Linked DNA regions of Homo sapiens: all the other regions are linked to region 4. The links are contacts of gene promoters, found by promoter capture Hi-C in blood cells and fetal thymus (Javierre and others, 2016). All regions are on one chromosome and are shown on one strand. Each heading gives the region's core, a stretch centred on a gene start or on the middle of the fragment in contact. The rest is flanking DNA. Distances are from core to core; before and after follow the strand shown. Region 1 overlaps AGTPBP1 (ATP/GTP binding carboxypeptidase 1). Region 2 overlaps AGTPBP1 (ATP/GTP binding carboxypeptidase 1). Region 3 overlaps AGTPBP1 (ATP/GTP binding carboxypeptidase 1). Region 4 holds the start of QNG1 (Q-nucleotide N-glycosylase 1).

Region 1 (7,292 bases), core at 642-3,141, 1.7 Mb before region 4:
CTTTAGATTAGAATTATTTAGGCAAGAGTTTACATTTTAGTTGGTTGTATTATTTTTGTGAAGACTTTTCTCATTCTTTCAAATTTTAATCCATTTTGTTCACTGATGTGGAATTTATGATTTGCAGTAATTTTTTGTGGCTTAATATCTGGTCAGTTTTGTGCTCATGGGCACTTGGAAAATAATATTCATTCTTTTTAGGCAACATAATGTAACATACATTGTTTAGTGAGGAGAAAAAAAAAAAACCTGTTTTTCTTCCTACTACTCACACCACTTCCCACACTTCTGTGCCCAAATGTGTGGGGATTATTTTCTCCACACATTCCAGTTCTTCTACTCTCCAGACACCAACTGGGTGTCCTTCCTACAATTCAGTTATGATACAAACTACCTGGAGTTAGTGCAGACCTCAAGGATTAAGGACTCAGTCTCCCACGACTGCCCCTCACTACAGATGCCAGTCAAAAGTAGTGGGTCCCCAGGTTACCATACTTCTCTCTGACTTGGTTACAAACAGGGGGTCCCATAACCCTCCTCACTTTGATAATTTGCTATGGCAGCTCACAGGACTCAGGGAAACACTGAATTACGATTCACAGTTCATTATAAAGGATAGATTTAAGGATTCAGATGAACAGCCCGATGAACAGGTAGGTCCAGAAGGGTCCTGGGTACAGGAGCTTTTTTCCCCATGGAGTTGGAGTGCCCCACCCTTCTGGCATGTGGATGCATTCATCACTTGGAAGCTCTCTGAATCCCGTGTTTTGGAGATTTTTATGGAGGCTTCATCACATCGATATGATTATTAACTCAGTTTACATCTCCTTTCCTTTCCCTTGAGGATGGAGTTTGGGGCTGAAAGTTCCAAGCTTCTTATCATGACTTGGTCTTTTTGGTGACCAATCCCCATCAAAGAGTACACCAAGAGCTGCCTCATTAGAATAGAAGTTGTTTCTATCACCAGGAAGTTCTAAGAGATTTAGAAGCTCTTTGTCAGGGAGTGGGGTCAAAGACCAAATATTAGAACAAAAGATGTTTCTGGCACCTCCATTGCTTGGGAAATGACAAGGGTTTTAGGAGCTCTGAGCCAGGAACTGGGGGGTAGAGACCAATATATATAGAGAGAGATTTCTTATTATTTCATATTTGGCTGGGCATGGTGGCTTATGCCTGTAATCCCAGCACTTTGGGAGGCTGAGGTGGGTAGATCACAAGGTCAGGAGTTCGAGACCAGCCTGACCAACATGGTGAAACCCCATCTCTACTAAAAATACAAAAAATTAACCAGGCTTGGTGGCACACACCTGTAATCCCAGCTGCTCAGGAGGCTGAGGCAGGGGAATAGCTTGAACTCGGGAGGTGGAGGTTGCAGTGAGCTGAGACTGTGCTATTGCACTCCAGCCTGGGTGACATAGTGAGACTCTGTCCCCCAAAAATATATTGTTTCATATTTAATATTATACATCTATTCAACTTTCTATATCCTTGTTTATTTTTTGTCTTCTCTATCTACCTAAGACTTAAAAATACTTAATAGTCTTTCAATTATGTTGTGTTTCTGTCAAGCCTTCATTTAAAAACTTTTTTTTTCTATTTTAATACAATGTTACTTGGCACACAGAATTTTGTAAGTTTTCCATTTTCCTTTTGCATATCTCTTTAATAGTATAAAATTATCACATTTATCTCATTCAGCATCTTTTGCCTTGAATTCTGTTTTTATATTGGTTTGAATTTGCTTGATGTATGTTTGCTTTTTTTTTCATAAATAAGAGGTTGGATTTTGTTGTTTGATCATTTGTCTTTTAATAGAGGAGTTTAACCTGTTTAAAATTCTTACAATTGATGTGTTTGGGTTTTTATGCTTTCTATTTTTGTACTTCTTTATTGTTTTCTTTATTTTTTATTTAGTGTGACACTTATTTTAGCTGTGGAATCCAAAATGTAAAATGCAAAAAAAAAAAAAAAAAAAGAAAAGCCCCTAAACCACAAGATACAGATCACGAGGCATATTCTGCATTGGATTTTTCAGTCTTGCTCCATCTGCCTTAAGTTTAATAGAGATTCCTTCCAGATTCTGATGATAAGTTGTCTATTGTGAGTTTTCTTCTTATTTCCATGTATTTGTAAGTATTTAACTAGGAAGTTAGTAGAAGCTATGGGAGCTGTTTAGGTAGATGTAATATTTTATTAAACTTATCTTTAGATTTGTTAGGTCAGTACAACATAAAGCAAATCTTGGTTTGTCTTAACATTAACAGAATTAAAAGAAAGGGACCAATATTTTGGTAAACTAGAATTTAACATTGTAAGCAATTATAACTAGCAATAATTCATTTTAAGGGTGGGGGCTGATGACCAAAGAAAGTATGTGCAGTGGAAACTTCTTCATCTGGAGGTATTTATTTAATTGTCAGACATGATTGAAATGAGGAAGTAGTATCAGTTAGGAGAGTAGCTTATTGTCTGTAATTTTTTTTTTGATTGGGGCGTGCCGGTTGGGGTACTATTTAAGTGTTGGATTCTAGAAAATGTGCCCAATAGAGGTCTTGTTCTTTGGCAGTGTCCCCAAAAAGGAACAGGCTGGCAGTTGCTTCTCTTTCAAGTTGTCCTTTTCTTTGAGCTTTTTAAAAGTGATTCTATTGAATACTTAGTGGTTTTCACAAGTGAATGATCTTAAAATTAAGCAGTTTAAAAATATTTATGTTTCACACTGTATTTTCAATTGTAAAGAGAATACTGCCTTTGAAATACTGAATTTGAGAATGTGTGTCACTAAATAGTGCTGTGTCTGTTTCAATCCATCACCCCCTCTTACCCCCCCATTACTTGGAAGGGATTTGCTGAAATTACCACCAGATGGCAGTCTTGCATTTTAGTGACTTGGAGCTTCAGTACCAAGCTTCTCTTTCACTTTCTCTCCATCTTTGTTTCTCTCAGATTTCTGAGGATTTTCAACTGCCTTCTTACATAAATTGAACATGTTTGGAACCAGGCAATAAAGTACAATTTTGGAGTCTAGTCTGTAGCATTCTCACCGCTTTGCCCACGTTAGTTAATTCAAGTCTCCTCTGCCTCCCTAGAATGGATTAGTCCCCCTGACAAATGTTCCTCATACATTTTTGCCTTTTGGGGTGCTCTTTACAGTTTAATATTATTTAGGTGTGTGGCTTTCCTACATTTCCTTCTTCTCTTTGTAATTAGTGTTATACATTGAGGTACTTTGAGACTATCTAAATATCTTGTTCCTTCTCAAGCTTTTAATGTATTATCAGTATAGACTGGGTTTCCTATTTGACTCAATGAGTTATAATTTGTTGCTATCATTATTTATTTTGATATTCAAATTGTCCAGGATTTGGCCAGTGGGATACCATTAATGCTGGTGTGTGTGCCCTTTTGAGATATCCCTGTCATTCCTTATGGGTGCCCTTGCTTTTTGGCACAAGGCCCATCTTGCTTTTCTCTACCCCTGAATGAAATCTGCCATTTCTTCAAAGAGTGCCATTTTACTTTAGTAGTGAATGATGTTTAAAAACCAAGATCTGGCCGGGCGCGGTGGCTCACGTCTGTAATCCCAGCACTTTGGGAGGCCAAGGCAGGCGGATCACCAGGTCAGGAGTTTGAGACTAGCCTGGTCAACATGGTGAAACCCCGTCTCTACTAAAAATACAAAAATGAGCCTGGCACCTGCATGTAATCCCAGCTACCTGGGAGGCTGAGGCAGGAGAATCGCTTGAACCTGGGAGGTGGAGGTTGCAGTGAGCCAAGATCATGCCATTGCACTCCAGCCTGGGCAACAAGAGCGAAACTCCATCTCAAAAAAAAAAAAAAAAAGATCTGTACACTTGGTATACACATTGCTATTGGGTTATTACTGTTTACAAACTATCTCAATGAACAATTAGGGAGTATATTTAATACATACATAATATTTACACAGTAATTCACATTTGTAGTGGTTTCCATATTTGTAGGTACATATTTATGTATGTGTGTATATAATCACACAAACACACATACACTCCATGAGATTATACTTATACCTTAACTTTCGAGCAAATAACACAGGCTTTATTCTTGTTTTCTTTCCATATTTACAACTTTCTTCTCCAACAGAGATAATTTTGGGCCCCACTGTCCGTAATATATTAACTTGTTTGATCAATTCCAGTTTATGTAATAATCTCCCTGTTGTCTATTTGGACAGATGCCTTCCTCCACCCTATTGAGGGTCTGATATCCCAAATTATTCTTCCTTCCATCCTCCTGCGTGGGTTCCCTCCCTGTTTGTTTTTTTCATTTTGTTTGTAATTTCTAGTTTTAGTACACTGTGACCAGAGTTTGTAATATTTCTGTTTTGTGAAATTTGGTGTTGTTTTCCCTGTGATGTAATATATTATCAGTTTTTGTGAATGTATTGTGCTATTGAGAAGATATATTACTTATATCATCTTATATTATATCTTAATATATTATCATCAAATTCCAAGCAAAGAAGATATCTTTGCTTAAAATTTGCTGATAATATATTGTCATATATATTATCAATTTTTATGAATGTATCATGTGCTGTTGAGAAGAAGATAATAAAGAATATATCTTCTTCACATAAGAAGATATATTTTTCATCTGTATCAGGATGAGACATTTGACATTTAGATGTAAAAATTGCCACATTGATTATGTCATTTGGTTCTCTATATTTTGTTTTCTTGTTCAATTGTTCTATCTTATTCTGAGAGTGGTGTTTTGAAGACTATATCAATAGTATGTCCCTGTCGATTTCTGCTTATATCTTCTGTAGTTTCTGCCTTATGTAGGAGGTTGATCTTATCAGATGCATTGATATTAAGTATTATTATATTTTCATTATGAATTGTGACTTTGTCATTATAAAATTCCTCCTTTTTCTCATTAAATATTTTTTATTCTAAAATCTACTTTAAAGATTTCAACCCCAATTCTGTTGTTCCATCCTCTATATCTTTGCTCATTTTACTATTTATAAACAATTTAAAGTTTGTTATATTCTGTCTTCTAGTAATGCTGAAGGCCTGGGTCATGTGTGGTTTTATATGTGCTACTTATTGAATTTATTTATTTCTTCTTTGGTTGGGATGAAAAATCAAATTCTGAGACTGGAGGATAATGGCAGCCACCTGAATCTGAATCTGAAATCGCAGCTGTAATACTAGACGTGTTAGAAGCATGTATTTTTTTCTACGTAGAGTCATTGGGTGTAAATAACATGCAGCTTACGATAGATGCCTTCAGGTTTATTAGAGCTCCACTTTAAACTTTTCTTGTTCTCCTCATCTGTTAAATGAGGGTGTTAACATCAACTCCAACATTTTACAAATCTGTGATTTATAGTACATTAATGATTATGACCTAAAACACCTCATCTTTCTTTGTATTTGCACATAATATTAACCATGTTCTCAATAAAACTTTGGCCTTTACTTGGATATTATTAGGGGCTAGTGCCATTGGCACTCTGGCAATTTAATATTTTGATTATCTATATTTGAGGCAAAAAATTTACAGTTTTAAGCACACTTGTTTTACATACATGAAGGTTTATCCTTTCACTAATGAATAAATCTTGCTCAGATATAGGCTTTCCATACTATATCAGGTTGAATAGACTGGTTTATTGAGTCTGAGTTTACCTCATTTGATTGATTCTTGCTGGGGCAACTTACTTTGTCCAAATGGTTTTTGTTACAGTCAGAATATCCAAATATAGCTAACTTCACTGTGACCAGCATTTAATATGATTGTTTTAAATGTGATATGAGAATACATTGTTTTAAATGTAATGTAATAATAATTGTTTTTTATAACATTAGAACACATGAGACAAATCTAAAGTGCTATTTGACCTTAACTTGAACCTTTCACTACTTTATATAGTTAACTTTTAAAAATTGATACATAATATTTGCACATATTTATGGGGTATATGTGATATTTTGTTACATGTATAGAATGTGTCACAATCAAGTCAGGGTATTTAGGATATCCATCACCTTGATGATTTATCATTTCTGTATGTTAGGAATATTTTAAGTCCTCTCATCTAGCCATTTTGAAATATACAATATATTGTTACTGATAGTCACCCAACTCTGCTATAGAACATTAAAACATTTCTTTTCTTGAACTATATATTTACACTCATTAACCAACCTCTCTTCACCCCCCTTATCCCTCCCACACACCCTTCTCAGCTTTTGTATCTATTATTTTAATTTCTACTTCCATGAGATCAACTTTTTTACCTACCACATATGAGTGAGAACATGCAATATTTGTCTTTCTATGCCTGGTTTATTTCACTTGACATAAAGACTTCCAATTCCATCCATGTTGCTGCAAAGGACATGATTTCATTTTTTATGGCCACATTGTATTTCATTGTGTATATATATCATTTTCTATATTCATTCATCCATTGATGGATGCTGAGGTTGATTCATATCTTTGCTATTGTGAATAGTGCTACAATAAACATGGGGTGGGTGTAGGTATCCTTTCAGTATACTGATTTCCTTTACTTCGGATAAATACCCAGTAGTGGGATTGCTGGATCTTATGTTGTTTTATTTTTAGTTTTTTGAGAAATTTCTGTACTGTTTTCCATAGTGACTACACTAATTTACGTTCCCACCAACAGTATGTAAGAGTTCTCTTTTCTCCACATCCTCACTAACATCTTTTTTTTTTTTTCTCTTTTTAATAATTGCCATTTTAACTGGGGTAAGATGGTATCTCATTGTAGTTTGATTTGCATTTCCCTGATGATTAGTGATGTTGAACATTTTTTCATATGCCTGTTGGCCATTTGTATATCTTCTTTTTGAGAAATATCTATGTCCTTTGCCTACTTTTTAATGAGATTATTATGATTATTTTTTACTATTGAGTTGTTTGAGTTCCTTGTATATTTTGGATACTAATCCCTTGTCAGATAAATAGATTGTAAATATTTTCTCCCATTCGACAGGTTGTTTCTTCACCCTGTTGATTGTTTCCTTTTATTGGAGAGTTTGGTCAAGTTACATTCATTGTTATTGATAGGTAAGGACTTACTCCTGCCATTTTGTTGTTTTCCAATTGTTTTGTGGTCCTCTCTTCTTTCCCTCTTTCTTTCCTATCTTCCCTTTTGTGAAGGTGATTTTCTCAGGTGATATTTTTTAATTTCTTTTTTTATTTTCTGTGTATCTGTTGTAGGTTTTTTGAGATTACTGTGAGGCTTGCAGATAACATCTTGTAACCCATTA
Region 2 (7,249 bases), core at 3,381-5,880, 1.7 Mb before region 4:
TTCCAGTTGCCTGTTATTCCTGTGACTGGTCCTGTGGCTCAGCTCTACAGCTTACCTCCTGAAGGTAGGATCACAGGGTCACTGCTGCTTTTTGTGGGTTCTTAGAATTATGTGACCCTGTGATTTTCTTTTTATTTATGTCTAACTCCTCAGCAAAGGAAGGCCTTACTTAACGTGATAAACATTCACATTTTATTTTAGTTAAGCATTTCTTTAAATGTAAGAAATTGGAGGCTAATAATTAAGTGAAATGGTGTGGGATGTGTTGTATATATGCAAATGTGAATTGTGAAATAATTAAGCTTCACATAGGAATATTATTTGATAGCTTATGTACTTTTTTTTTGTTTTAATTTTTTTTTTTGAGACAGAGTCTTGCTCTGTTGCCCAGGGTGGAGTGCAGTGGTGCAATCTCGGCTCACTGCAACCTCTGCCTCCCGTGTTCAAGCAATTCTCCTGCCTCAGCCTCCTGAGTAGCCAGGATCACAGGCCTGTGCCACCATTCCCGGGTAATTTTTGTATTTTTAGTAGAGATGGGTTTTCGCCATGTTGGCCAGTCTGTTCTCAAACTCCTGACCTCAAGTGATCTGCCTGCCTCGGCCTCCCAAAGTGCTGGGATTACAGGTGTGAGCCACCACACCCGGCCCAACTTATGTATGTTTTTAAAGTGTAAAAATATAAACATTAAATGTCTAGGTAAATTATGTTCGGGTTTACATTTGTAGCTTTTCAGTGATTTTTTTTCTTAAGTTAAAAAAAAACAACCTAATCACCAAAATTACTATGGTTTTATGCTTAACAAAAACTTTCACATGACTTACTTGGATGAAAATATGAAATTATCTGAGGTAGGCTGTTTGTCATTTTCCATATAATACTGTAGGTATACAGTAGAGGAAGTAAGAGTTTATTTATATGGGGAAGAAGAATTTCTTTGACAACATCTACCAAAGTGAAAAAGAGAAAGTAGTCCTGGCTTTTAATAGAATTTCTATAGTATTTTCTTATCAGTTTATTACTTTTTTGAGAAAAAAAACGAAGATTCTTTATTTATATGTAAAATTCTTATTTGAAACAAGTGTTTTAAGAGAATTTTCAAGGAATTATATTAGTTTCATTATCCTTGATATAAATTTATTAATGGTATATGTCATAGGGTACACTATTATGATTTTATTTTTAAAATATGTAGTTATTAAAACAAGTTGACACAACATATCAAAATGGATTATTTAGAAACCTCCTTTAAAATGTTGAAAAGTCTAAGACTAAGTCTAGGACTTATGAGTAAGAAAGCTAAGTAAAAGCAGTGGTCCAATACCCTTTTCCCATTCCATTTGAAATTACCGACAGACTTTTACAGGAGAAAATCTGTACCAAATCTGAAAACTGGGTAAGAGGGGCATGGAACAAATACAGAACATTCAAGAGATGTGGTGGAGCTGTGAGTAAATGCAGGAGCAGCATCAAGCCTCCACTCCCTCTTCTAGGAATGCATTATCTTCTGCTAAAGTTGAGGTGCCATTAGCACCAGTTTGGAGGGACAATCAGGAAGCAGTTGGAATCCCTTTCTTTCCTACATCAACATAGGATTATGGGGGTTAAATGGTGGTTCTCACTGGTGGAAAGCTGGTGAGTCTTCCCTGTGCTGCGGCCAGTAGTAACACCAGGAAGGAGGTGGGATAGGCCCCAGCAAGTTCTTTATTTAGTGTCTGGATTGACGGATAGAGAAAGCCGACCTCTAGTGCAGTAAATTCACCAAACACGGGAACAAACAAGAAATTATATTTTTCTTTTAGTTCCTTTGATGCCTGCTTCTCAGACCAATGAGTCACTGGACTAGAAATGCATATTTACATTGACTGACAAGCCTTCCTGATTCAGATGGGAGAGGAGGGTTCTAATAGCAAGTGTATAGATACTAGGAAAATACTCTCATTCTGTTTTCCATTATTCCTTCCTCCTCCTCCTCCTTCCTCCCCCCATGTTTCCCAGGCTGGTCTCGAACTCCTGAGTTCAAGAGATCCCCCCCACCTCAGCCTCCCAAGTAGCTGGGACTACATGCCCTTGCCTCTGCTTTGTTTTCCATTATTTTCTCACATGTCAGGCTTCATTATATGTTTCACAGTCTTTATTATTATTTACCTTCCTCAGCTAGAATGTGAGTCCACAAGGATAGGTCTGAACTCTTTTACTCACAGCATTTCTGACCCCCAAATATGTGTCTTTTGTCCTCATACCAACCAATTCTCCATATCTCCAGACACTAGCTGGGTGTTCTGCAATTCAGTTCAATTCTGACACTGAAGACCTGGAGTTAATACAGACCCCACAGGTTAAGGGTTTAGTCCCACAGGACTGCTACCACTTCAGATAACAATTACAAGTCTGGACTACCTGTATGTCTGACCTACTGGCAATAAAGTTGATGGGGGTGGGGGTTTCCACAACCTGTTCCTGAAGTTTGATAATTTGCTAGAATGGCTCACAGAACTCAGGAACACTCTACTTATGGTTATGGGTTTATTATAAAGGATACAATTTGAGAGCTGCTAAATGGAAGCGATGCATAGAGCCAGGTATAAGAGAAGGGGTGTGGGGCTTCCATGCCCTCTCTAGGTATGCCACCCTCCCAGCACCATGATGTGTTCACCAACTCAGAAACTCTGAGTGGTGTGTTGTTTTTTTCTTTTTTTGAGATGAAGTCTCACTCTGTCTTCAGGCTGGAGTGCAGTGGTGCGATCTCAGCTCACTGCAGCGTCCGCTTCCTGGGTTCAAGCAATTCTCCTGTCTCAGCCACCCAAGTAGCTGGGACTACAGGTGTGCACCACCACGCCCAGCTAATTTTTATGTATTTTTTAGTAGAGACGGGGTTTCACCATGTTGGCTAGGATGGTCTCGATCTCTTGACCTTGTGATCCGCCTGCCTCAGCCTCCCAAAGTGCTAGGATTACAGGCGTGAGCCACTGCACCCGGCCAAAACTCTGAGCTTTTATACCATTGTTTAGGGTTTTTATGGAGGTTCCATTATGTAGGTGTGATTGCTTAATTATAAGGCTATTTTTGATAAAATCAGTCCCCAGCTCCTCTCTCCCCAGAGGTTGAGGAGTGGGGCTGAAGTTCCAACTGTCTGATCATGCCTTGATCTTTCTAGTGACCAGCCTCTATCCTGAAGTTATCAAGGGGCCCACAAAGAGTCACATCATTAGAACAAAAGATGCTCCTCTACCTAGGAAATTCCAAGGGATTTAGCAGCTGTGTGCCAGGAACCTGGGACAAAGATCAAATATATATCACAATAGGACTGTTGTTGTTTTCATTTTGTCTTCAGCATCCATTAGATTGTGTGGGACATAATAAGTGCATTTAATGTTTGTTGAATAAATGAATCGAGCTGGCCTTGATACTTATTCTTCTGAATGTTAAATGCTGCATCTATGGAGATTTGAAGGAAAGGGTTCTGACTCAAGACTTCTGGACCTTTATTAGTTGTCACCATATGTGAAGGTGACATATTCTTAGGTATGTTTGGGTACAGAAGTATATTATCCAGGTATTCCCTTCCTGAAGTAATTATGTGAAATATTACTCCAGCCAGTCAGATGATGAATTAGAGATGTCAAGAATGTAGACGTTACCTAAGAGTATTTGTATTAAACATTATAATCTGTTAACTATATAATACTAAATAGTTGTTATAGTATTATTATGAAACATGTTAGCTAATTATTGGCAAAAGATACATAATACAGTTATTATAAAGTGGGTATTTACATAAATGAGCTAAAATTTATATTGATAGATTTCCTAATATTATACTGTTCTTGCATTTCTAAAATGAAAATTATACAAATAATCCAAATGTATATTCGCCAAATGTAAAGGTAACATCTGGAACAGAGATCCTTAAACAGGAGTCCATTGACCCATAGAAATACATGGGTGGCCTTTGGAGACTATGGACACTTTGAAAATTGATATAAAATTATAGGGGTCCATCATTGCTGTGTAAAAGCAAGGAAATTTCAAAGATGCACAATATCCTGAGAGCACTAAAGGCTAAGCAAGGACAAGCAGATCAGTTTCAGTAATAAGTCTAAATGGATGAAATACTCCTGTTGAAGGAAAGAGACTCCCAGATTGGGTTAAAAAACAAAATCCGACTAGCTGGTACATATGAAGTCTCTTAAGACAGCAGGATAGAAAGCTTGAAAGTAAACAGATTAGCAAATATGTATGTGTTATTCCTTAGCCCAGAAGAGGTGAGAAGGAAAGTATTATTGTTAAACAAAACACGAATACAGAATAAAAAATGATTAAAACAAGGCAGTGAAGATTATTTTATGCAAGCTAGATAACACATGTGCCAAATACTAAAAGTCGACAAAACTATAATCATTTGAATAACAGAAAGACATTGGTAGAAACAGTGTTGGTGGTTGATTTTAATATACCTCTACATTCTTGGCAAAGTAAATAGGGGTGGTTAAATCAGTCTAAGTAGATGTTAAAGGCAACTCCTGCGAATGCATTTGAATACAGACTTGACCCTAAAACAACTTGGGGATTAGCAGTATCGACTCTGTGCAGTTGAAAATCTGCATAGAACTTTTGACTCCTCCAAAACATAACTACTAGTAACCTGTTGACCAGAAACCTTACTGATAACATAAACAGTTAATACATATTTTTTATGTTACGTGTATTCTGTACAACAAAGTAAGCTAGACAAAAGAAAATGTTATTTGAAAAGTCATAAGGAAGAGAAAACATATTTACTGTTCATTAAGTGGAGGTGGTTTTCATAAAGGTTTACATCCTTGTTGTCTACACATTGAATAGACTGAGGAGGAGGAGGGGCAGGAGGGGTTTTGCTATCTGAGGAGTGACAGAGGCAGAAGAAAATCTGTGTATTAACGAACCTGCACAGTTCAAACTTACATTTTTCAAGGGTCACTGTGTGATTGGAATGGACAATATTTTAGGAAAATATGAATAACTAATATTGACTTAAATAGTAAAAAATTTGAAATTGAATATGCAATCAAGCTTCTTTAGTGAAGACACCAAATGGTGATGACTTCATAGATTAGTTCTCCCAAACTTTCAAGAAATTGTCCTACACTTTATTTTCCAGAGCAAGAAAAAAAAAAAAAAAAAAAAAGGAAAGTTTAGAAGCTAGCATGATGCTGAAAACACAATCTGGTAAGATTAATCTGAAACAACCTACAGATCACTGTCACTCATGAAAATAAATATAAAAATCCTAAAGTATTAGCAAATTTAGTTGAGCAGTATTGTTTACGTTTAGGACACCTTGACCAAGTAAAGATGATTTTTAAGAAAGTAAGTTTATTGTAATATTAAGACTTTAATTAGTAAAATATATTATCAGTAGATCAAAGGGACAAAACCAAATGATCATCTCAGTAAATGCCATGACAAGATTTCATAAAAATCATATCAGTGTAGAAAAATTTTTAAGGAACACAGGAATATTTCCTGAACAAGCTAAGTATTATCTAGCTCAAATCAATAGCCAACATCATAAATAGTAATGAAATGTTAGAGGATGCCTCTCTCAACCATTATTATTTACCGTAGTTTTGAAAACTCTAGCTAAATCAGTAAGATAGGGAAAAGAAAGGTCTTAACCGTTAAAAGAGTGAGATAAATTTATCAGTATCTGTGGAGGATATTACTGTCTATATAGAAAATCCAAGCAAATCAATTGTAAAAAAGTGGCTTACGCAAAGGAACAGTAAAGTACTATTTACAAGAAAAATGAATAAAATTAAATAGCCTTCCTCTACGTGTGTATATGTGTATCAACAAAAAACACATAGAAAACATAAAGGGAAAGTAGATCACATTTATAGGCACAATAGCAACAACAAAATAAACTTCCCGTGATGTACTTTCCCAGTCCTTATAGAATGTGCAGACTCTTTCCTTCTAATGACTACATCATACAGTTGTAGTATAATTTATCTAACTAGTGTCCTACTGATAGACATTTAAGTTGTTTCCTATATTTCTGTTTTTACTATAAGCCAAGGACATTTTGAAAATCAGTAAGAATTTTGGTTTATATTCCCTGGTTTTAATTTGATTGGCTATAATAATTAATATTGTTAATTATTGGTACTGGTATAATGAATGGATCTTTGAAATAGCAGAGAAGGTCTCAGACGCTCTTAAGCTACATGGCATTTCACATCTGGAGTATAAACCCTAAGGAAAACATCCTACAAAGGAAAATATTTGAAAGGTTTGACTAAAAATTGAAAACATATTTTCTCTCTGATGCTGAACTGCATTTTCTCCTCTCCCTTTCTTTCCAAGCAGTCATTTTTCCTACTTGCAATAGGATTTTCTTTCTTTCTCTTTTTTTTGAGACGGAGTCTCGCACTGTTGCCCAGGCTGGAGTGCAGTGGCGCGATCTCAGCTCACTGCAAGCTCCACCTCCCGGGTTCACGCCATTCTCCTGCCTCAGCCTCCCGAGTAGCTGGGACTACACGTGCCCGCCACCACGCCCAGCTAATTTTTTGTACTTTTAGTAGAGACGGGGTTTCACTGTGTTAGCCAGGATGGTCTCGATCTCCTGACCTCGTGATCCGCCCGTCTCGGCCTCCCAGAATGCTGGGATTACAGGTGTGAACCACCGCGCCTTAATTCAATCCCTTTCTTTTTTCCTAGGAGTTATTTTCTTCCTTCTCTTCTTCCAAATGTCAGTTCTTCCCTTGTTTATCCATGACCAACTGCCGTTAGGGCATAAGTATAAATCAACCCAGGTTACCATGTGAAATATGAATATTTATTTTTTGCTATCTAAGAATTTGAGGTGATTTGTTTTTATATTTGTACCTGTATTAGTTAGGGTCGACTAAACTGCTGTTACAAAGAGACCCAGTAGCACAGTCCCTCAAGCAACAGCAGTAATAAACATTTGTGTAACACATACTCTGCCTGGCACTTTACGTATATTAACTTCTCTAATGCCCACAGAAACACTATGAGTAGATATCTCCATTTTATAGACAAAGAAACGAAGACAAAGAATTGATGTAACTTGCTCAAGGTCAAATAGCTAGTAAGTTCGGGAGCTAGGATTTGAATTCAGGTATTCTGTTTCTAGAACCCCTGTGCTATCCTGCTACAACATGGAATTTTTTTCTTTTCCTGTTTGTTGGTCACCTTCCACCCGTATGCTGTCTCTCTCACCTCTTAAAATTGAATTAAGCCATTC
Region 3 (7,020 bases), core at 4,080-6,579, 1.7 Mb before region 4:
GGTCCTATTTACTTTGTTTAAGTCTTTTTTTTTTTTTTTTTTAAGATGGAGTCTTGCTCAGTTGCCCAGGCTGGAGTGCAGTGGTACGATCTCGGCTCACTGCAAGCTCCTCCTCCTGGGTTCATGCCATTCTCCTGCCTCAGCCTCCAGAGTAGTTGGGACTGCAGGCGCCCGCCACCACGCCTGGCTAATTTTTTTTTGTATTTTTAATAGAGACGGGGTTTCACCATGTTAGCCAGGATGGTCTGGATCTTCTGACCTCATGATCCACCCACCTCAGCCTCCCAAAGTGCTGGGATTACAGGCGTGAGCCACCGCGCCCTGCCTTAAGTCTTTTTTAAAATTCATTTTTATTTGTAGTTTTATATAGTGGAGTACAAGTGCAGATTTCTTACATGTAGTATTGTATAGTGGGGAAGTCTGGGCATTTAATATACCCATTACCTGAATAGTGAACATTGTAGCTAACAGGTAATTTTTCAACCTTCACCCCTCACCCACCCTGCCACTTTTTGTATCTCCAATGTCTACTATAAATCTTAACATTCTTAAGTTCTTCTTATTTAAAATTTTTTTTACTGTTTTAATCTCTTCATGAGAATAAAAATTAAGAACATCTTTTCTTCCCTTCCTGTGTTAAGAATTATTTCCCTTTAGAAATTTATTTGGTAATATTTGCCAGATTATTTTCTACATAAGCTGTTAATTTTTTAAATGAATTTTTATTTTTTTACAAGTCAGAAAAGAATATGGTTCATATTAAGTATTATTGTAATGGACATTTGGATTTTGTTCCTTTTAACTCTGTGTTGGTGTTCTGGGAAGTGTGTTGAACTAGACAAATGTATATGTGTAGTGGAGCAGTTCAGTTTTTTTTAATGACAGTCTAAGTGTTGGGCTACTCTAGCCTCCATCCTCCTTCCCTATCCCCCTGTCTGTTTCTTAGTACATTCTTTCAACTAATGTTTTAAAATAAAAGGGATGTTTTATTTTAAAAATAATACAAAAAAGGATTATAATTTTATTCTTTTCAGGCCAACTTTATATTTCATAAAATTAATTCATAATGTAAATTTAAAATTTACATCACTGATTTATAATATCATCATTTCATTCAAAACTTACATGTGGGCCAGGCACAGTGACTCACACGTGTAATCTCAGCACTTTGGGAGGCCAAGGCGGGCAGATCACTTGAGGTCAGGAGTTTCAGACCAGCCTGGCCAACATGGCGAAAGCCCGTCTCCACTAAAAATCCAAAAATTAACCCAGTGTGGTGGTGGGTGCCTGTAATCCCAGCTACTCAGGAGGCAGAGGCAGGAGAATTGCTTCAACCTGGGAGCCAGAGGTTGCAGTGAGCTGAGATGGAGCCACTGCACTCCAGCCTGGATGACAGAGCAAGACTCTGTCTCAAAAAAAAAAAAAAAAAAAATTAAAAAGAAAAGTTGTATGTGCATAAATTGTCTTTTTTTTTTTTAAACAGATAAAAAATTTGGAGTAAAGGCTAGAATTAATGGGGCTCTGAATATAACCCTGAATTTGGTCAAGCAGAATTTGCAGAATCATCGCTTGGTTCTACCTTGCCTTCAGCTTTTACGAGTATATTCTGCCAACTGTGAGTATTTAGGTGGCTTTTAGTTAACTCAGTGTTGTAAAGTTACACAAAAAGAATTTTAAAGTATCCTGATTCTGTAAACCTCTGATATTTGTGAAAAAGGAAAGAGAAGATTTAATATGGCTCATTTTAACTCTTGACTCCAACCACAACAAAAGTGATGTGGGGTAAGGTTAAGTTGGTCTGTGCATGGTGGCTCATGCCTGTAATCCCAGCACTTTGGGAGGCCAAGGCGGGCGGATCACCTGAGGTCAGGAGTTTGAGACCAGCCTGACCGACATGGGGAAACTCTGTCTCTAATAAAAATACAAAAATTAGCTGGGCATGGTGGTGGGCGCCTAATCCTGACTATTTGGGAGGCTGAGGTAGGAGAATCATTTGAACCTGGGAAGTGGAGGTTGCAATGAGCTGAGATTGTGCCATTGCACTCCAGCCTGGGTGATAGAGCAAGACTCCGTCTCAACCAAAAAAAAAAAAGGTTAAGTTGGTAAAACCTTGAACATTCTAACTAATTTCTCCAATTTATAAAGGATAGGAGTGAGGAGGATGACTAGGCAGCCTGTAGAAAAGATGTGGAAGAATATGAGGGTATTGGTAGCTGGAAAAACTCCTGTGCCTCTTTAGACTGTCACAGATGAGAGGAGAAAGCCTAGAAGGAAAGGATGCAGTAGCATAGTCACCTGGAGCTAATTCTCTTCAGCAATCAATAGGGAAGTAGCAGAACTGAAAATAACTAGTATGGGAACCTCTGAGAAGCTAGAGAGAAGAGGGCTCACAGAGAGACAGACTCAGATAAAATGTCTCCCAAAACACACACTCTCACTAACACGAGGTTCCACGCATGAGGTGTGGATTTTTTTTTCTATTCTCTGATTGCAGAATTGAAGTGGTTAATGAAAGAACCTAAGATTGAATTGCAGAATATATGTTATTGCAGAATATCATTGCAAAATAATGATAGAGTGCTAGATATGTGTGTATATTGCGTATATACATATATGTAATATATAAACATACATAAGCTTATGTATATGTCTCTGTGTGTGTATATCAGTACCTTTAAAATATGGCTAAAGGTGTGCTCTGTGGAAAACAGCTTAGAACACTTAAATAACTAACATGTAATTAAAAAGAACATAAGGAAACAAATGAATTAGATATCTAACCAATGAAGTTAAGAACAGAGAAATAAACACCAGTAAAGTCAAGAAATGAAATAGTAAAGGTAAAAGGAAAAATATGCATTAGAAAATAGAAAAGCAGTTGATTTAAAAAATAAAACTGTATTGGATTAAAAATAAAATACACTGGTACAGTCGCACATGGCTGTAATCCCAGCACTTCAGAGGCTAGGCAGAAGGACCGCTTGAGGCCAGGAGTTTGCAACCAGCCTGGGCAACATAGTGAGATGCCATTTCTACAAAAAAAAAAAAGGAAAAAATTGGCTAGTTGTGGTGATGTGTGCCTGCAGTCTCAGCTACTCAGGAAGCTAAGGTGGGAGGATTTCTTGAGCCCAGGAGGTTAAGGCTGCAGTGAGCCATGACTGCACCACTGCATTCCAGCTTGGGCAACACAGCAGGACCCTGTCTCAAAAACAACAACAATGCAACAAAAACCCCCAAATGTAAAAATAAAACAGCTAAACCACCAAATACTTCAATCAAGGTCAAAGGAATACAGTATAGACATGAAATTAGAAGGGATAACGGAGTAATAAACAGAGAAAATTAAGATCATCCTACGAAATATTAGGAGCTACATTTTTGGTGGCATTTTATTGGATTAACCAATAGAAGGCTAGCAGATGGCTTATCTATAATTTAAAAATTGTTTATTAAACGATTTTCTTTTAGAGACAGGGTCTTGCTATACATCTCAGGCTGGCTTTGAACTCCTGGCCTTAAGCGATCCTCCTGCTTCAGCCTCCCAAGCAGCTAAGACTACAGGCACATGCCATTGTCCCTGGTTCTACAATATATTTAATAACATCTGTTCAGAATTAAAAATGTTTAGCACAGTTTTCTGGTTAGGTAATTATTTGTATATTCCATATTAAATACTGAAATTGTTCCATCTTTTTCCCTGCTACACTTGCTTTAATTAAAGTCCTCATTACCTGTTACCTAGACCATAGCCTCCTAATGTGTCTTTCAAAACCAGCTTCCTCAGAGTTCTTTGAATTCTGACCTATTTATTTAAAATTCACATCTGATATGTTCCTTTTGCGTGATTCCCCATAGTCAAAAGAATTAACAACTTCTAGGGCCCTTCATAATTTCTCATCTTTTTCTACCTCATCTTCCTATTTGTGTATCTTTTCTTGATACTCTGTGTTTAACATTATGTAACTGCTCACATTGTGATGTTCATTGTCTTCGTTCTGTTTGTATTATTCCTGTGTCCAGAGCCACATCTACCCCTTTACCTCTACTCCTGCCCTAACTACTACTCACTTTTAAAGACTGAGCCTAGGCATCATTTTCTCCAGAAATGTCTGTCTCACTCTGAATTAGGAACTTCTCAATGGTGTAATCCAAATAGTCTACAACTCTTGATCTATTTTGAAAGTAATTTAGTAATTATTTGTTTATTGTTTCTGTCATTCTCTCTACACTTTGTTCTTTGAGGTCAGAGATTTTATTCTTGTTTCGGAATCCCCATAACCTGGTGTTCAGTGAGGTTCACTAAATTTATTAGAGAAATATAGAGTAACTGAAGAATTTTTTTTATAATAGTGGTTTTTTTTTTTTTTTGCATATAACTCGTTTCAGAATTTCCCTGCACTTTCCATAACAAAGCAAAAACAAAAAACACTATTTCTTCATGTGGTTAGCTTAGATGGACTTTAAGGTGACTTGAGTTGACATTTACTAAACAATTTGTATATGTTTTTGCCTATGTATCACTAAGTATACACATTTTTGGTTGTCAAACCTTAAAATAATTTTGCATCTCTTTCTCCCCCTCTCAGCTGTGAATTCAGTATCCTTAGGGAAAAATGGAGTTGTGGAACTGATGTTTAAAATCATTGGACCATTTAGTAAGAAGAATTCCAGTCTTATAAAGTGAGTAAATGTTTTGAATGTAAACATAGGTATAGCCTTTGTTACTCTGGGCCTCATTATCTTGATATGTACAATGAGCAGGTTGAATTAAATTGTCTCCAGGGTTATTTCATTTCTTAGTTCTTAAATAATGATTTTATCATGATAAAGATTTTCTTTAGTATAAAATTTAATCTTCACAAATATCTCAAAATTGGACAGTTTTGACTTCATTGAATATAATGTTTATAGTAACTTAGACTGAACATTTCTAGATACTGTAAAAGGAAAAAAGATTATCTATAGAGTATTCATTCAGAAACATTTATTGAGTGCCTACTATATTTCTCACCCAATTTTACAATCTTGTAATGACTTTTTCATTCTTATGAATACCTGAACAATCTTAAATTGATACATTTCTATTTTGTCAAAATCACATCATTCTTTTTCCCCCATCCTGAGATGTGTGTGTGTGTGTGTGTGTGTGTATGTATACACACACACACACACACACACACACACACACACACACACATGTATGTATGTATGTATTTTTATTCATTCCTAGGCCTTTCAGCCTCAGAAAATGAAAGCCATGTCTCATTTATTGGTTACAGTTTAATATTTTCTTAAGCCATTTTAGAGGTCTTTCTTTAAAATTTTTTTTTATTGTGGAATTTTTAAAACATACATAAAATAGAGTTTATATTAAACTGATTATATTGAGTTATATTAATTACTTGTTGTGTTTAACAATTCTGAACATTCCACCATTTTTGTTTCATTTGTTTCCACTCCACACTTTTGTTTGTTTGTTTTTCCTGGGGTACTTTTAAGAAATCTCAGGTATTTTATATATACATAAATGTGTGTGTATTTCTATAAGCAGATCCTAGATATTTTCTCTTGGATTATTTTCTTTGAATACTATCATTTATTTTCTAAATACCTCAGTATATAATTCTACTAAATAAGGACTTAAAAATAACCAGAATACTACAATCATAGCCAACAAAATTATTAATTTCTTTTTTTTTTTTGAAATGGAGTCTCTCTCTGTTGCCTAGGCTGGAGTGCAGTGGCATGATCATGGCACACTGTAGCCTCAAATTCCTAGGCTCAAGTGATGCTCCCACCTCTCCCTCCTGATACTTACTTAATACAATCTAAAATCTGGTCTGTTGTTTGATTTTCTCCAGTTGTCTCAAAATAGCCCCTTTTTAGTTGGTTTGTTTGAATCAGAATCCAAACAAGATGCATACATTATTCTTCATTATATTTAGGAAATTTCCAAGCCTACACAAATGTAGAGAGGATAATATAATGAACTCTGATGTACCTGTTACCCAGTTGTACTATCAAAAATCTGTCATTTTAATTTTATTTTTCTTTCTGTTTTTCTTTTTTCCTAGCGTATTTTAAAGCAGATATCAGCCATTATATTTGAGCTGTAAATTCTTTAATATGATCACTGTCAATTACAGATCTTTTCTCTTTTAGTGTTACCGCAGTTGTCTTTTCTGTGCCCAACAATATTAACGGTAATTTCTTAATATCTGATATTTTCTGATTAGGAAATGCTTTTTTTTTTTTTTTTTTACAGTTGGCTTGCTTGTTCAGGGCTTCAATTAAGTCTATACATTATATTTGATTGATATGTCTCATAATCTTTTGAAATAAAAAAAAGTTTCCCTGTTTTTTGGTTTTGTTTTATTTGTTGAAGGTCTTCAGTGATAGGTCTTTTAAAATGTCACACGTTCTGGCTTACAATGACTATATCCTGAAGTTATTTAACATATGAGTATATCCCTTACATTTTCTGTAGACTGATAAAACTGTGGCTTGATTAGATTTGGGGTTCTGGTTTGTTTTTTCTGGTCAAAAATATTTCATAGGTGGAGCTGGCAACTTTGTTTTATGTCACTTAAGATAATTGAGTTGAGGTTATCTACCCATTAGAAATGTCCCCATCCACTTTTCACTTAGTGATTTAGCAGTCATTCATGACACTGCCTGTATCTGTTATTTCATTAGTGGTTGGAAAATAATAACTTATCTAGTTTTATTTTTTTCCTGTGTTTATTAGCTGTGAATCTTTTGTAATGAAGAACTTGTCCACATGAACTATTTGATTTGACTTTACTCTTAAATAGGGTTCAGGACATTTCCAGTGTTTTCACCCTTTCTTAATAAGGGTCAAATATTTTAAAATATTTTCTGAGCTTACTTGCACATATGACTATTTATTAAATATTATTTGGTGGGATGACAACATAGTTACAGCTGTGTAAGAATTATACACAATCCCAGAGTATCTGATGAAATGTAACAAAGCAAACAAAATGTTTGTATCACAAT
Region 4 (6,865 bases), core at 2,665-5,164:
GCAAGGCATAGTAGCTCACGCCTGTAATCCCAGCACTTTGTGAGGCCGAGGCAGGCGGATTACTTGAGCCCAGGAGTTCGAAGCCAACCTGGGCAACACAGCAGACCCCATCTCTACAAAAAAATTAAAAATTAGCTGGGTGCAATGGTACATGCCTGTAGTCCCAGCTACTCAGGAGGATCACTTGAGCTGGGGAGGTCAAGGCTGCAGTGAGCTATGACTGCACCACTGCACTCCAGTCTGTGTGACAGAGTAAGACCCTGTTTCAAATAAATAAATAAAGCCTATGCCTACAGGGTACAGCTTCTGCCAAAGATTTATCTATCTCTATCAGGAGATAGAGACCATCCTGGCTAACATCGTGAAACCCCCGTCTCTACTAAAAAAATACAAAATATTAGCCGGGCATGGTGGCGGGAGCCTGTAATCCCAGCTACTCGGGAGGCTGAGGCAGGAGAGAATGGCCTGAACCCGGGAGGCGGAGGTTGCAGTGAGTGGAGATCGCGCCATTGCACTCCAGCCTAGGCGACAGAGCGAGACTCCGTCTCAAAAAAAAAAAAAAAAACCAAAGTCGGGTGTGGTGGCTCATGCCTGTAATCCCAGCACTTTGGGAGGCCGAGGTGGGCAGATCATGAGGTCAGGAGATCGAGACCATCCTGGCTAACCGGGCATGGTGGCGGCTGATAGAACCGGGGCGGGGGGGCGGCGGGGGGCTGAGGCAGGAGAATGGCGTGAACCCGGGAGGCGGAGCTTGCAGTGAGCCGAGATCGGGCCACTGCACTCTAGCCTGGGCGACAGAGCGAGACTCCATCTCAAACAAAACAAAACCAAAAAACAAACTCAGGTTGCCATCAAAAGGACTGCAGCAATTCCAGGCCTTACATTCAAGGTCAATCAGGTCCAGAGGGAGCCTGAATCACTTCTGAAAATTCTCCTGGAAGAGTGAGGAAAAGCTTTTCTGCAAGCATTCTGCAAATCTTGCAACTCACTGAGGTGAACTGGGAAATATGCATAAACCTAATCCAGTTGCTGGCAAGAGGGTGATATTACCAGTCCTGACTACCCTTGAGTCTGAGGATGCTAAACTAAGCTACAAGGGAGTGCAGTTGAGAGATGGATTCCTAAACAGTATCACAGTATCTATTGGGAAGGAAAAAGCAGGAAAACCATGTTCAGTAGGTGAAGAACTCACTTTTTTTTTTTTTTTTTTTGAGACAGTGGGTTGCCCAGATTGGAGTGCGGTGGTGCCATTTCAGCTCACTGCAACCTCCGCCTCCCAGGCTCAAGGGATCCTCCCACCTCAGCCTCTGGGAGTAGCTGGGACTACAGGCTCCAGCCACCTGGCTAATGTTTTCTTTTTCTTTTTTTTTTTTTGTAGAGACAGGGTTTTGTCATGTTGCCCAGGATGGTCTCGAATTCCTGGGCTCAAGTGATCCTTGGCCTGCTAAAGTGCTGGGATTACAGGCCTGAGTCACCACGGCCAGCCCAACTCATTTTTGTATTCTCAGCATCTTGTAGACACACTTAAAAAAACAAAAACAAAAATCCCAGACACACACAGTTTTGATTTATCTCAAAGTTGAGTGAAGGAGGCATGTTTTATTCTTGTGTATACTACTTTTAGTGCTTAAATACCTTGAACATAGGCAGGAATTTGACTTTTTGGGTGGGAGGGGGAACGGGGGGGGGTCTCACTTTTTCTCACAGTCTGGAGTGCAGTGGCACAATCTCACCTCACTGGAATCTCTCTGCCTCCTGGGCTCAGACGATCCTCCCACCTCAGCCTCCCTAGTAGCTGGGACCACTGGCGCATGCCACCACACCCACCTAATTTTTTGTGTTTTGGGTAGAGACAGGGTTTCCCCATGTTGCTCAGGCTGGCCTCGAACTCATGCACTCAACTGATCCACCCACCTTGGCCTCCCAAAAAGCTGGGATTACAGGCGTGAGTCACCACATCTGGCCGGCATTTGACTTTTTTCTATCAATAAACCTCAGTGAGAGAAAAGGGTCTAAGTTATTTACCCTTCTGGATTATTTTGCAGATTGCTAGATTTCCTTGCTAAATCAATTTGTCTCCCAAGACTTAGGTGCTGTGGTAGAAAGGAAAAATCCCAAGCCAACAGACTTACATTTCCTTAACAACTGTATTAATGTACTAGTGACTTTTTCTGGAAAACGTATCATAGTGGAGTCCTTAAAGTTCCTTTTTCTTACCAAAATGAAGAAACTGGAGTGATGAAGATCTGCTTTTCTAGGGTAACAGCTGTCAAATTTAAAAGCTCCATTTGGGGCCAGGTGTGGTGGCTCATGCCTGTAATCCCAGCATTTTGGGAGGCCAAGACAGGCGGATCACCTGAGGTCAGGAGTTCGAGATCAGCCTGGCCAACATGGTGAAAACCTGTCCCTACTAAAAATACAAAACTTAGCCGGGCGTGGTGGCGGGCACCTATAATCCCAGCTACTCGGGAGGCTAAGCCAGGAGAATTGCTTGAACCCAGGAGGCGGAGGTTGCAGTGAGCCGAGACTGTGCCACTGCATTCCAGCCTGGATGACAGAGTGAGACTCCGTCTCAAAAAAAAAGCTCCATTTGGGAGGCCGAGGAGGGTGGATTACCTGAGGTCAGGAGTTTGAGACCAGCCTGGCCCACATAGGGAAACCCCATCTCTACTAAAAATACAAAAATTAGTCAGGTGTGGTGGCTGACACCTATAATCCCAGCTACTTGGGAAGCTGAGGCAGGGAGAATCACTTGAACCGGGGAGGTGGAGGTTGCAGTGAGCTGAGATCATGCCACTGCACTCCAGCCTGGGCGACAGGGTGAGATTCTGTCTCAAACAAACAAATTTAAAAGCTCCGAATCCTCCAAAAATACCAAGATTTTCCTGTCGGTAACTAGAGATGGGTACTGATGATTATTTTTAATAGGTGATTTTCAAAGATGTGAACGTTATCCATGGAGATTTAAGTCTCCAAAAGGAAAAAAAATGCATACCTTTATACTAAAACTTCATCACCAGTCAAATTTGGATCATCACTAAATTGGCTTCTACACCTCTCTCCTAATATAAGGTACTTGTGTAAGTTTGCAGTTGTGAGACACTTATTTCCTCATTTTTAATGTCTTCTCAGTAGGGCCACTGATATAGTCACTATTTGACTGACCAGAATGGTTGGCACTGGTGATTGGCTCATAAAGTGCCCTCGATTTAGGGGGCTCAATTATCAAAGGTTTAAATCCTAGCCCAAACCATTGCTGTGATGGGGGTTAATCAATGAACCACTCAGCTTCACTTGCAAAAGCGGGATCACAATAGCCGCTTTCGTCATGACCCAGCCTAGGTGAGATTTAGTACTTAAGTACACTGCCAGGCACACAAGGTTAATTTAACAATTTAACACATTTGTTTCCTCATCCATTTCTCCAAACCTTCCAACTAATCCTAACGTTCGTTCGGCCAAATGGGCCAGGAATTCACTTAAACAAAAACAAAAAACAAAACAAACAAAAAAACACTCCCTGGGGCTTGGGGAAGGAGGCACCGCCGCCCATGTCGCAGTCTGGGGGTGGCTCAGTCCTCAGCACCCAGATCTACGGCCATAATGCTCTTCGAGGCCAAGGAGCCCGGATGCGGGGCGTTGCCGAAGGCGTCTTGCTCAGGCTGCGGGAAAGGAGAGGGGTGGGAGCGGGGTGGGGGCATCGCGACCCAGGGCAAGGCGGCGAGTCGCCGTCTTCGAGTCCCACCTGTCCGAAGCGGGGTGAGAAAAGGCAAAACATGGCAAAGCCATGCACCTCCCAGGGTGGGCAACTCACGGCCGGTGAACGCCGGACCCTTAGCAGTTTCCAGACCTTTGGAACCGGAAGCGGAGCCTGAGAGCGCGCCCGAGAGGGCGTGAACGGGACCGCTTTCCCGGAAGTGCTTGCGGCCTCTGCCCAGCGAGCTGCCCCGGGGTCTCTCTGGTTTCCTAATCAGGGCAACGCCGCGGGAGAGAACCTTTACCTTGGCTGCACTAAGTTCTCGGTGCCACTCCCTGGCAGGGCGGGACCTTGTTTAGGCCCTGTGATCGCGCGGTTCGTAGTAGCGCAAGGCGCAGAGTGGACCTTGACCCGCCTAGGGCGGGAAGAGTTTGGCCCGCCGGGTCCCAAAGGGCAGAATGGACGGGCTCCTAAATCCCAGGGAATCCTCTAAATTCATTGCAGAAAACAGTCGGGATGTGTTTATTGACAGCGGAGGCGTACGGAGGGTGGCAGAGCTGCTGCTGGCCAAGGCGGCGGGGCCAGAGCTGCGCGTGGAGGGGTGGAAAGCCCTTCATGAGCTGAACCCCAGGGCGGCCGACGAGGCCGCGGTCAACTGGGTGTTCGTGACAGACACGCTCAACTTCTCCTTTTGGTCGGAGCAGGACGAGCACAAGTGTGTGGTGAGGTACAGAGGGAAAACATACAGTGGGTACTGGTCCCTGTGCGCCGCCGTCAACAGAGCCCTCGACGAAGGTTGGTGCCATACTTGCCATCGGACCTAACGGCCTTTGAGGTTTCCATTTACTTGGGGTGTGTGTAGGGGAGTTCCAAGGAGCGGGTTGGGAGATGGAATAATGGAAAGCGAACCTGAAGTTCGTTGCAAGTCCTTATGCTTAAAATAGAAGTATGAAAAGGGGCATATTTTAGTGGAAAATGATGTTAATATTTATCATTGCAGCATAAAAGTTACAGTAGCATAAAAGTCAGTTTTATAAAGAATGCCATTTGAATGACACCTGAAGAACAAAAGGACCGATGTTATAAAGCAATTTACTCAGAATACATCTGATGTAATATTGCAATAGTTAGAAATGGGTGAATAAGTACAGATGAACAAGTAGAAAATGAGTTTTGCTTTAGATTTTTTATTCTTCCACTTTTGGTGCATTCCTATACCACTCATTTGGTTTCATATTAATTCCATGTTGTAAAAGCAAGGGTTTAATGCATATGGAAGTATGACATTGGTCCTCTGAATTTTATTTTTTCACTAAAGGGATACCAATAACTAGTGCCTCGTACTACGCGACAGTGACCCTGGATCAGGTTCGGAATATACTTCGTTCTGACACAGACGTTTCCATGCCTTTAGTAGAAGAGAGGCATCGGATTCTCAATGAAACCGGGAAAATTCTGCTGGAGAAGTTTGGAGGCTCTTTTCTCAACTGCGTCCGAGAAAGTGAGAATAGTGCGCAGAAGTTAATGCACCTGGTGGTTGAAAGTTTTCCTTCTTACAGAGATGTGACTCTGTTTGAGGTGAGTTGCTTCTGTTGGGGATTTTAGAAGTCTTAATCATCTCAGAGTTAACTCTTTTACTTCCAGAACTCATTTTAAGAATAAAAACTTAAATTTTTAAATGTATTCCTTGTGGAAGAAACTAACAAAATCAAGTAGTGTTTCAAAGTCATTTCTTATGTTTTCTTTTGTTTGTTTGTTTGAGACAGAGTTTTGCTCTTGTTGCGCAGGCTGGAGTGCAGTGGCGTGATCTTGGCTCACCGCAACCTCTGCCTCCCGGGTTCAAGCGATTCTCCTGCCTCAGCCTCCCGAGTAGCTTGGATTACAGGGATGCGCCACCAAGCCCGGCTAATTTTATGTATTTTTAGTAGAGACGGGGTTTCACTATGTTGGCCAGGCTGGTCTCAAACTCCCGACCTCAGGTAATCTGGTCGCCTCAGCCTCCCAAAGTGTTGTGATTACAGGCGTGAACCACCACGCTGGCGTCATTTCTTTCCTTTTTTTTTTTTTTTTTTTTTTTTTGAGATGGACTCTTACTCTGTCACCCAGGCTAGAGTGCAGTGGCGCGATCTTGGCTCACTGCAAACTCCGCCTCCCGGGTTCAGGTGATTCACCTGCCTCAGTCTCCCGACTAGCTGGGATTACAGGTGCCCGCCACTGCGCTAGGCTAATTTTTGTATTTTTAGTAGAGACGGGGTTTCACCATGTTGGCCAGGCTGGTCTTGAATTCCTGACCTCGTGATCCACCCACCTCGGTCTCCCAAAGTGCTGGGATTACAGGCGTGAGCCACTGTGCCGGGCCTTTTTTTTTTCTTTCCCTGAGATGGAGTCTTGCTCTGACTCCCAGGCTGGAGTGCAGTGGCACTATCTCAGCTCACTGCAACCTCCGCCTCCCGGGTTCAAGCGATTCTCCTGCCTTTGCCTCCTGAGTAGCTGGGACTACAGGCGCATGCCACCACACCTGGCTAAGTTTTTTTGTATTTTTAGTAGAGATGGAGTTTCATCTCATTTCTTATGTTTTCTAATCAATATTTCATTCTTTACTTCCTTTTTTTTCCTTTTAAAATGTTTCAAACCTAAAAAACATGGAACCCTCCATGTAATGTTCTCCTTATGGAAAATTAAGTATTTTTAGTACTTCAAGAAGGTTACTTTATTGGTTGAAGATCAGAATGTATACTAACCTCTCCCTAATAAAAAGTATTTCTGGCCAGACTCGGTGGCTCACTCCTGTAATCCCAGCACTTTGGGAGGCCTAGGTAGGTGGATCAACTGAGGTCAGGAGCTCAAGACCAGCCTAGCAACATGGTGAAACCCCATCTCTACTAAAAATACAAAAATTAGCTGGGTATGGTTGCACGCACCTGTAGTCCCAGCTACTTAGGAGGCTGAGGCAGGAGAATCGCTTGAACCCGAGAGGTGGAGGCTGCAGTGAGCCGAGATTGCACCACTGCACTCCAGCCTAGACGAGACAGAATTAGACTCTATCTCAAAAAAGTATTTCTTGAAAAGTTCAGTGTACTGTATATATATTTTGTGTTTTCTTTTTCATACACAGTGTACTTGAACAAATGATGATCATTTTGTTGGACCCTCACAGGCTGCACCCGG

The links. The method cuts DNA at HindIII sites, captures the fragments that hold promoters and counts their contacts. A CHiCAGO score of 5 or more calls a contact.
Region 1: a fragment that was not itself captured here is called in contact with the fragment with the promoter of QNG1 in region 4 in 5 of 17 cell types (total B cells, naive B cells, total CD8 T cells and 2 more); the score reaches 7.4 in total B cells.
Region 2: a fragment that was not itself captured here is called in contact with the fragment with the promoter of QNG1 in region 4 in 2 of 17 cell types (monocytes and total CD4 T cells); the score reaches 6.9 in monocytes.
Region 3: a fragment that was not itself captured here is called in contact with the fragment with the promoter of QNG1 in region 4 in 2 of 17 cell types (non-activated CD4 T cells and neutrophils); the score reaches 6.3 in non-activated CD4 T cells.

Annotation. Positions count from the first base shown.
Region 1 is chr9:85,605,839-85,613,130 of GRCh38, reverse strand. The region is part of intron 17 of AGTPBP1 (ATP/GTP binding carboxypeptidase 1); the gene reads left to right. Among named protein-coding and RNA genes, the nearest start is that of AGTPBP1, 130 kb to the left of the region's middle. The HindIII fragment of the contact is 2,033 bases long and covers 875-2,907 here.
Region 2 is chr9:85,647,958-85,655,206 of GRCh38, reverse strand. AGTPBP1 (ATP/GTP binding carboxypeptidase 1) reads left to right here. Exons shown (of 26, transcript NM_001330701.2): 11 at 1-64. Among named protein-coding and RNA genes, the nearest start is that of AGTPBP1, 90 kb to the left of the region's middle. The HindIII fragment of the contact is 842 bases long and covers 4,210-5,051 here.
Region 3 is chr9:85,667,145-85,674,164 of GRCh38, reverse strand. It overlaps AGTPBP1 (ATP/GTP binding carboxypeptidase 1), which reads left to right. Exons shown (of 26, transcript NM_001330701.2): 7 at 1,484-1,615; 8 at 4,587-4,680. Among named protein-coding and RNA genes, the nearest start is that of AGTPBP1, 71 kb to the left of the region's middle. The HindIII fragment of the contact is 5,380 bases long and covers 2,640-7,020 here.
Region 4 is chr9:83,953,791-83,960,655 of GRCh38, reverse strand. QNG1 (Q-nucleotide N-glycosylase 1) reads left to right here and starts at 3,914. Exons shown (of 4, transcript NM_032307.5): 1 at 3,914-4,492; 2 at 5,016-5,275. The coding sequence starts at 4,156. The HindIII fragment of the contact is 8,080 bases long and covers 956-6,865 here.